3 separate regions of the Homo sapiens genome follow, and regions 2 and 3 are each linked to region 1. The links are contacts of gene promoters, found by promoter capture Hi-C in blood cells and fetal thymus (Javierre and others, 2016). All regions are on one chromosome and are shown on one strand. The core of a region is centred on a gene start or on the middle of the fragment in contact, and the rest is flanking DNA. Distances in the headings are between cores, read along the strand shown.

The links. The method cuts DNA at HindIII sites, captures the fragments that hold promoters and counts their contacts. A CHiCAGO score of 5 or more calls a contact.
Region 2: a fragment that was not itself captured here is called in contact with the fragment with the promoter of LINC01088 in region 1 in 1 of 17 cell types (fetal thymus); the score reaches 5.4 in fetal thymus.
Region 3: a fragment that was not itself captured here is called in contact with the fragment with the promoter of LINC01088 in region 1 in 2 of 17 cell types (total CD8 T cells and fetal thymus); the score reaches 8.7 in total CD8 T cells.

Annotation. Positions count from the first base shown.
Region 1 is chr4:78,969,839-78,973,164 of GRCh38, reverse strand. It overlaps LINC01088 (long intergenic non-protein coding RNA 1088), which reads right to left and starts at 1,417. Exons shown (of 6, transcript NR_038342.1): 1 at 1,289-1,417; 2 at 113-165. The HindIII fragment of the contact is 4,785 bases long and covers 1-3,326 here.
Region 2 is chr4:80,209,269-80,212,264 of GRCh38, reverse strand. No RefSeq gene overlaps it. Among named protein-coding and RNA genes, the nearest start is that of PRDM8, 13 kb to the right of the region's middle. The HindIII fragment of the contact is 1,021 bases long and covers 988-2,008 here.
Region 3 is chr4:80,227,201-80,230,301 of GRCh38, reverse strand. No RefSeq gene overlaps it. Among named protein-coding and RNA genes, the nearest start is that of PRDM8, 31 kb to the right of the region's middle. The HindIII fragment of the contact is 3,701 bases long and covers 1-3,101 here.

The DNA of each region.
Region 1 (3,326 bases), core at 168-2,667:
ACAACAATGAAAGCACTAAGATGCTTTCAAGGGAGGCACCATAGCAGAGTCGTCATGAGCACAAGACCTGGATCCTGCCAATCTGGGTCTCAAGCCCATCTCTGTTACTTACTAGCTGTGAAACGCTGAGCTGTTTCTTAATTTTTACGTGATTTAGCTTCCTCTCTGAAAAATGAAGATAAAAATAGTATCAGCACCACTACAGTATTACTATAAGGACTAAAGAATTACCTTTTGTAGAGAACTTGGAACAGTGACTGGCACATAAAAAGTATTCAATTAATGTTGGTTATTTTTGTTAATTGAAAGAGTTTTCACAGACATATCTCAAAGGACCAGCACTGAGAGTTTTCCACACATATATTATGCAGACACACACACACCCAAGACCTTTTTCCCGACACCTCACATTAACACTACACTTTGATACAGTGTGTACTCTCTCAGGCCCTTTCCTTGGGCTCTTACACAAAGCCAAGAGTTCTGCCTGTTGCTCTTTTCCCTGATGTGACTATTACCTGTGTTAAGACAGGTATCTTAACATGCATAGATCTTAAATCAATCTATGCATGGCTACCATTATTTCACTGCAGAACACGGACTAATAGTCCCAGCTTTACTTCTCAATCGAGGCTTTCTGTAAGAAGAAGAGCTTCCTATCCAGGTTTTCTTATGAACACACAAAGACCAATCTTTTATCCATGGCCTAACCCAGTGTTTACCAAACTTGAATACATCTGAAGACTTGCAAAGCTCTATCAATTTCTGTCTGAGAGACATATTCCAACCCTTAAATTTATGAAAGACTCAACAAGCTGAAAAAGCAAGCAATACAATTTCAGAGAAGTAGTTTATCCAAGGATACATGGACAGTAAAAAGTAGAACTATGCCTTAAAACCCTTCTTTTGACTTTAGTACAATGTTTTCTTTTAAATTTTATTTATTCAAGAAGTTTGGAATTTAGAAATCATGGAGATGATTGGGCAAACCTAATACTAAAGGAAAAGTCAGATAATCCATAATATCATTGCTTTTTATCCCATTAAAAAAGCTGAGAATACTAATAAAGCTAACTTAACTAAAATCTGTATAGTTATGATCCCGTTCTATAAAAGAAGAGACCAGTGAATTTTTTCATCCCTGGTGGTGCAGCAGGAAACAGAATCTACCACAGAAAAGAAAATGAGGAACTACATGAATCTTAGACAACTATTAAGACCTGTGTGTGAACTAGCTTGACATGCTGGAGTCCCAAGGAACCCATCCACACCATCAAGCTGTACTCACCTGCCAGCACTTTACCACAGGTCTTCACCAGGCACAGAGGAGGACTATACTGAAGACTGAGGGAAAGTCAAGAAATCTGAGAGAGAGAGATCCTTGAGGCATGTGAACCTTCCCTAAGTGCAAGGCAGCATCCCAGTGAAGACTGGAGTCAGGGCAGAAGAGTTAAAAGAAATCTGTCTGAGAAAGTCTAGGCCTTCACTAGGTCAAAACAGTTGCAACGGAGGCCAGAAATAAGGCAGAAGAACTGAGAACAGTTGCTCAGAGTGTTGCAAACTTTCATTAAGTACAAGGCACTGGATGCCAAAGGCTTGAAGCAGCAGAGCAAAAAGAAGAGAGACCTCCTGAGATTAATAAAGTCAGAAACAGGAAAGGAAAAAGAACTCCCTAGCAACCAAAACAGTCTGGGAGCACACAGAGATCTCTGAAATCTTGCCAGTGCTCAGATCACAAGCCCTAGTGATAGAAAAGACCTTATTCTGTTTTCAAAACATTTGAAGTCAGTGGTAAACTAATCCAACTAAAGCTGAAATAATCCCACATACCTCAAATATACAACAGATTTCCTCAACTTTCCCAAGAAAAGGTCTAACAAAAAAAGTATGCACTTTTTTAGGGTAAATAAATATTAATTTTCTCAATCTCTACTATTTTTCTCACAATATCCAACATAGAGTAAAAAATTTTGAGACCCACAAAGAGAAAAAATGTGAGCAATAATCAAATGAGAAAACAGTCAACAGGCTGAGACTCTAGAAAGCACAGACGTTAGATTTATCAGGGAGTAACTTCAGCATAACTATGATAAATATGTCAAATAATTCAGTGGAAAAGGTAGAGAGCATGCATGAATATATAGAGAATTTCAGCAGAGTAATGAAAAGTATGAAAAGAAACCAAACTGCAATGTCAAAATTTGTTTTTAAAATACACTGTCATCAAAAGAGAATACATATTAGGAGTCTAACAGGCCATAAAACACAACAGTAGCCTATTAGCAGCAGCAAAAAGCAGAAGTAAACCTGAGGACAGGTCAATTATCCAAAAATAAATAAATAAATAAAAGGGGGAATGAGTGAAAAACTTGAGTCTATGATCTCTAGGACAATATTAAGTAGCCTAGTAAATATGTAATTGCATCTGTGAGAGATAGAAAATGAGTCAGAAGAAATCCTTGAAAACATAATGGCCAAGAATTTCTCAAAATTGATTAAAAATATCAAACCTCAGCATCAGGAATCATAGTAACCCCAAAAGAGGATAAACACAAAAACAGAACTAGGCACACCATACTCACTCTGTTGATAGCCAAAGATGATACAAAAATCTTAAAAGCAGTCAGAGAAAAAAGAAACATTACACGGAAGAAAAAAATGATAAAAATTATGTCTAATTTCTCTTCAGAAACAATTACTCCAAAACAATGGAATGACATCTTTAAAGAGCTGAAAGTGAAACATGTTAGTCTGGAATTCTGTATAGGATTCTAAATAGATTCTACATAAAATTGTAGCATAGTCCTATATCCTACAAAAATGAAAAATAAAGACATTTTCATACCCTTCTCCCCAAATCAGATTTTTTTTCCAGGAGACCTACACAAGAAATGCTAAAAGAAATTCTTCAGGGCCGGGCGCGGTGGCTCACGCCTGTAATCCCAGCACTTTGGGAGGCTGAGGCAGGCGGATCACAAGGTCAGGATTTCGAGACCATCCTGGCTAACATGGTGAAACCCCATCTCTACTAAAAATACAAAAAATTAGCCAGGCCTGGTGGCAGGCGCCTGTAGTCCCAGCTACTCGGGAGGCTGAGGCAGGAGAATGGCATGAACCCAGGAGGTGGAGTGTGCAGTGAGCCTAGATAATGCCACTGCACTCCAGCCTGGGTGACAGAACGAGACTCCGTCTCAAAAAAAAAAAAAAAAGAAAAAAGAAATTATTCAACATGTACATAATAGGCACATAAAATAGGCACAACAAACCATTTGGCAAAATCCAACATCCATTCCTCATAAAACGACTCAGTGAAAAAGAAACTGAAG
Region 2 (2,996 bases), core at 249-2,748, 1.2 Mb before region 1:
CTATGGATAGTATTACTTTTTCTTTCCTTGTGAGCTCTTATTATCTATGGTTTATAATAAAATTTTCTGAGGATGGAAGGATTGGGGGAAATTATCTTCTTTTTGAGCCTTTTCTTATGGAGTCAATAACATGGGGAAGTCATTGCCAGAGGTCCCCTCTTTTTAGCATCCTTATCTGATTTTCTATTTGGCCATGTGCCTGGGTCTTCGAGCAGGCTGCTGTAAAGAGCCAGTATGACAGGCACTCAGAAATTGTACATTAAACTTTAAATTTCTTCTCCTGAAATGTATTCAAAGGAAAGCCCCCATCCCAGAGAAGAGAGTAACTTGTGAATATATATATATATATATATATATATATATATATATATCTGAAATATATATATGAGAAATATATATATCTAAAATTCCAAGTTTCTATTTCTGAGTTGTTATAAATAAATGTATTTTGAATATTTAAAGGATTTAAGAAATTCAAATGTGAGCTGCTGGCAATCATATAACTTGATGAGACTTGTTTTACCATGCTATTAGCTTTACTATGCTTGGAATTAGATTTTTGAATGTTAGGTTTCCTAAATATCTCCCTGGCTTTAAGTTTAGGCATGTTTGGAGGTTTAATAAATACTTTCAGATGCAGCCTCAAAGTCAAATACCTCTGATTTGGAAGGAGTTTTAGGCATTATTACCCTGGTGGAGAAGTACCTCTGCATATCGATCCTTCATCTTTACTTAGACTGCTCCAAAATTAGAAATTAAGCTTTAAAAAGCAAATGGAGAAGCAAATACCTTCATGTAAATTCAGACTTTTTTTTTTTTTTTTTTTTGCTGTTTATTCACACAGGTGGCAATTTTGGATACTACCTCTTTGTTGGAGGGGATAGAACTCAGGGAAATCTAAGAGAGCCTAAAGGTAAGAGACGATTGAAAATGGGAGGTTCTGAGATGGAATTTAGGGAGCAGATCGAATGTCCCTGAAAATAAGCTTCATGGCATTCACCATTTATCCACCTAGCCCTGCTAAAGCAAATAGTTAAACTAGCACTGTCTACAAAAGCATTTTAATGAAAAAGTCAATTTACTCCTTCCTGAAGGCTAACTCTTATCTTTCTAGGAAGGACCTTGCAGGAATATTTCCTTTATTTTCTTTCCTCCTCCTTCGCTTAGCCCTGACGCTGGACCTCTTAGCCTAAAGAAGAACTGAACACTATGGATACTAAAATTTTTCTAATTACATGATTTGCATCCATTTGGGGGCTGGGTGTCACTGTTTGGCTCTGTTTGTCTTTCTCAAAGACCCAGTGAAATTTTGCCAGAGTGTAAAACAGGACTTTATTCATTTGTTTGAGAGAGAAAAAAGTCATCAATTGCTTAAAAAAAAAAAAAGTTTCACACTTCACAAAAAAATAACAAAACACAGAAAAAGTGGCACAGGCAATAGTATAACACCAACACACCCACCCAGAGATGAATCCTCAGAGAAAAGTGCAATCATGGTATGCCTGTCCAGATTTTAATCCTCGAAGCAGGTGTGCACAAGAGATCTTAGTCAACGGTGGGACTGATTTATGGATTTCTACTCTGAAACCCACAGTAAGGCTCTTCTCCAAAGAAAATGCCAAAAAAAAAAAAAAAACAGTATGAGAGGAATTTGGAATTGGTGGCTGGACATTTGTGGGAAAAGAAGTAAAGGGACAAAAAGTTAGATAAATTAATCCCATGATTATTTTTCTTCCCAATTTCTCTCTTCCTTCTTTCCATCCTTCCTTCCTTTTCTTTACTCCGTCCCTCTTCTCTTCTCCTTCCTTCCTTCCTTCCTCCCTCCCTCCCTCCCTCCCTTCCTTCCTTGTTTATTTTTTACTTAAAGAATTTATTCTCTAAATAATTTGGGAAAACAAGATATTGTATGCATTCTTCAAGTCTCTATGTTTTAGCAGCATTAGAGTTCTTTATGATTTTTTAAGTCATGCATTATTTTTAAAGATCCATTTAAAAACAGGAAAAAGCTTGAGCTGGAGTGAGGGATCCGTTTTGATCTGTAGAGGGAACATTGTCTTCATTAAGCACTGAGCACAGTGTAGCTTTCTAAGTAAGGTGCAATTTGTTACATAGTAACTAGGAAAAGGGATAAGCTTCTCTCCTGCATTGTAACCATACTTTCTACAGCATGGCAAATTATATCTAGAACTCCTCTTATAGCCTTTTCCATCCTTAGCATTAGGCTGACTTACAATTTTTAAGCACTAGGAACACGCTGTATTTATAATTTAAGATTATTACAGCTAAGCCAACTAAAATATATATATATAGTTATATACACATAACTGTGTATATATATATATATATATATATAGTTTTATGTGGGGTGCATGTGTGTGTGGAGTGTGTGTGTGTGTGTGTGTGTGTGTATATATATATATCATGAATGAACCTATAGGCTTACATGATATTATGTATCAAACATTTTTTCAGTGACTCTCCTGTAAGCTTGAGGCACAGAGTAAAATCCTGAGTAATTACATAAACAACCACAAAATCAAACCAGCGATTACTCCCACCTCTGGTTAAAAATGAGAAAAGATCATTAAAGTAAGTCAAGGTCACAAAAGATTTCTTATAGAGGTATGAGAGCATTTTGACTACCTGAGAAAGATAAGTTGAGGCTAAAAGCATATCTCTTTTACCAACATGGGAGTCAATCATATTCAATAGTACAAAAAGCTGCTACATGTAGAATTATATTTGCTTTTCAAGACACCGCTATGTGATAAGCCCACAGGTGGTATTATTCACATGTTCAAGTAAAGGAAACTAAGATAAATAAATGGAAAGGCCACAAAATTTGGAACCGGTTTCCTGACATAAGAGTCACTATTTTTTCATTACATTATCACATTCTCATCTTTCTGTTTCAGAGTGACAACCGTACTAACTACACAATGCTGAAACATGATGGAGTGGGATTCTCAGTAGCCCTTGGGTAGGCTGTGAGAATT
Region 3 (3,101 bases), core at 5-2,504, 1.3 Mb before region 1:
TTCTCTTATATTTCTTGATAATGTTTTATAATTTTCCTATTAGAGATCTTGCATAAATACTTTTTTCCAGATATTTGATATTCCTTGATGTTCACTTTGATTATTATAAAAGTGTCTTTTTGTTCATTACATTTTCTAGCTTTTGCTGCTTGTATGTAGGAATACAATTGACTTTCTATATATTGCTCTGAAATCCAGTCATTTTGCTAAACTCTTCTTTTCATTCTATTCAATTATTTGTGGACTCTTTTGGATTTTCTATGTACATGTCTATAGCTGACTAATAGATTAAGAATAGTTAAGATACTTCTGAAGAGTAAGGAAGAGGAATTTGCTCTACTAGATAGTGGGATTTACTGTTAAGACGTAGTAATTAAGACTGTGCAGTAATGGCCCAGGCAGAGATAAATGAATCAGTGAAACAGAATAGAGGGACCAGCAGCTTGTATGCAAATATAGCTTATGCTCAATCCAATTCTACTTTCATTTCTAAAATACCACTGAAACCACTTGTAAGATCCCTAATTATGTCAACTTGCTAAATATAATGAACAATTCTCAGTCCTGGTTTTTCTTCCCTTTTCAGCAGCACTGGCACAATTGATCATTACCTACACATGGAAGCACCTTCTTCACTTGGCTTCCAGGATACCACATTGGTTTGCTTCCTAAGCCACTAGACACTGCTTTCCAGTTATCTTTTCTGGTACCGACTTATTTCACCAACCTCTTACTTTTGTCATAAGGACTATCTGAAGGCTTAATCATTGGTCCTCATCTTATCTCTAATTAAATATTCTTTATTGATGAATTCAACAACTCTCATGGTTCCCAACATTTACCTATATGCCCATGAATCCAATCCATGCTTCTATATCCAATTGCATATCCACACTTGAATTTTTAATAGAATTATAAACTCACCACGTACAAATTTTACCTCCAGTTTCACTTCCCAAACCTGCTTGACCTGAAAACTGCCCCTTCTCACTCGATGGCAGCTCTATTCTTCCAGTTGAACAAATTAGAAACTTTGGAGCTATCTTGTATTACACTTATTTTTGCTCATGCTCCATGTCCAATCAGGAAATCCTTTTGCATCTGCTTTTAAAATATATCCATCTTTAGTGTCCAGAAAGTAATCTCTAAATACTATTCCTTATTAATAGAACCATGTCCTTAGAGACATGGCTGATTGAAGGTCTGGAGCAGAAATTCTGCTATGTTGTTAAACCAGAGTGCAAGGAAGCTGTCAAAGACCGTTAAAGACTTAGGAGCCAACTTGAAGGCATAGCTATTGAGAACACTTATAGTAATTTCTCATCAATAAGAATTATATACACAGTGGACTCAAACCTACCAAATACGTTTATATTACCAGTTTATTATGGTACCTCAAAGAAGCACACACACACAGTAACACACCTTGGCCAGTCATCTATAGAGGATGCTAGCAAAGCAACTCATTATTTTGAAAACTGGTAAAAATAAGAATGTGAGATCAAGTTTTATTTTCCTGTACCTCAAAATGATCAAATAGTTAATTGGGGAAATTTTCTTCTCATGCAAGTTTTTTGTACTGCCTCATAACCTCTTGCTTTACTTTCTGTTCTGGCCATTACTTAGGACTGTTTCAGGTAGCTGTAACCTAAAAACACATTGCCTCAGCTGTACCACTAGTCTCTTTCTGTTTGCTCTGGGGAGACTCAGTCACTTTAGTGTGGAACACTTGCTGAAATCTTCCTGGCACTCAGTACATACACAACCTAGAATAAAAAAAAGTTAATATCCCATAAATTGGCCACTGGCTAGTGGAGGACCAGAGCCAGAGGATAAATTTGCCTCTTCTGTCCTTGAAAAGAAATGTGTGAAGTACATTCTACACAGGTACTCTGGAAATCCAGTAAGATTGTATCTCAGGTGCCCACAATGGTGGCCAACTCAACAGCATACCATTCTGTTGGCTTTCTCTCCTTCCCTCTTTCATTCTTCCTAATCTTGTTTCCTGGAATCACTTTTTATAATAAATTATCAGCATCCAAGTCTTTGTCTCAGGCTCTACTTTCTGGAGTAAATGAAGAAAAAATAAAAATATTCCAGCTAATAATTGAAGAAAAAATGTTAGAAGAAGAAAATCCCCATTTTTAAAATATCTAATGAAATACTGGGTCAAGGCAGTAACCAGAAATGGTCATTACCATTCCTAAAAGAGATAACCAAACATGTGGCTGCTGATAGGTGTTCATAAAAACCATCTATGAAGAATTCTGGTCAAGTCTCTAGATATTTAACAGCCAATTAACAGGAACTAAAGTTAAGAGAGGAACACGATTTAATGACACTATAATAATGTAATCAGAAGAAATCCAGGATATACGAAATTTCATAGGACAAATAGCCCAGTTTCTTTATAAAATAAATTGCAAGGAAAAAACTAAAAGGAGATTTGTAGATTTTTGAAGATTTAAGAGACTTACAAATCAATTATAATTTAGTTATTAATTCAATCTAATTAAAAAGTTAGTACAGTATAAGGCAATAAAGGAAATTTGAACACTGATTTAATACTTGATGATGTTAAGAATTTAATCTTACTTGAAAAATGTGATAGTCTATTTTTGTTTTAAAAATGTTCCTTATCTTTTAAGATTACATATTGAAATATTTATGAATAAAATGATTTGCTGTCCGGAACTTGCTTCAAAATAATCTTGTAAAGCAAGGAGTGGGAAGTCGTAGATTTAAAAAAAAAAGTTGGTCATAAGTAGATCATTATTGAAGTTGGAAGGTGGGTGCATGTGGGTTTATTATTCTATTCTTTGTACTTTTGTATAAGTTTGAAATTTCCCATTATAAAAAGTATCCAGAATTTAATCATCTACTGACACTACTTTCACTATCACTAGCCCAGGTGGAGCTACAATTATCTCTCACCTGAATTTTGCAATTGGTCACACTGATTTCATTCGTGCCCACTTCTACAGCCTATTCTCAGCACAGCTGACAGAATAACTATTTTAAATTTAAATCGTATCAAGTCACTGAAGGCAGAATATGGTGGCAGCAGGGAGAAACATTAGAAGTTTTTTATAATAATGAAA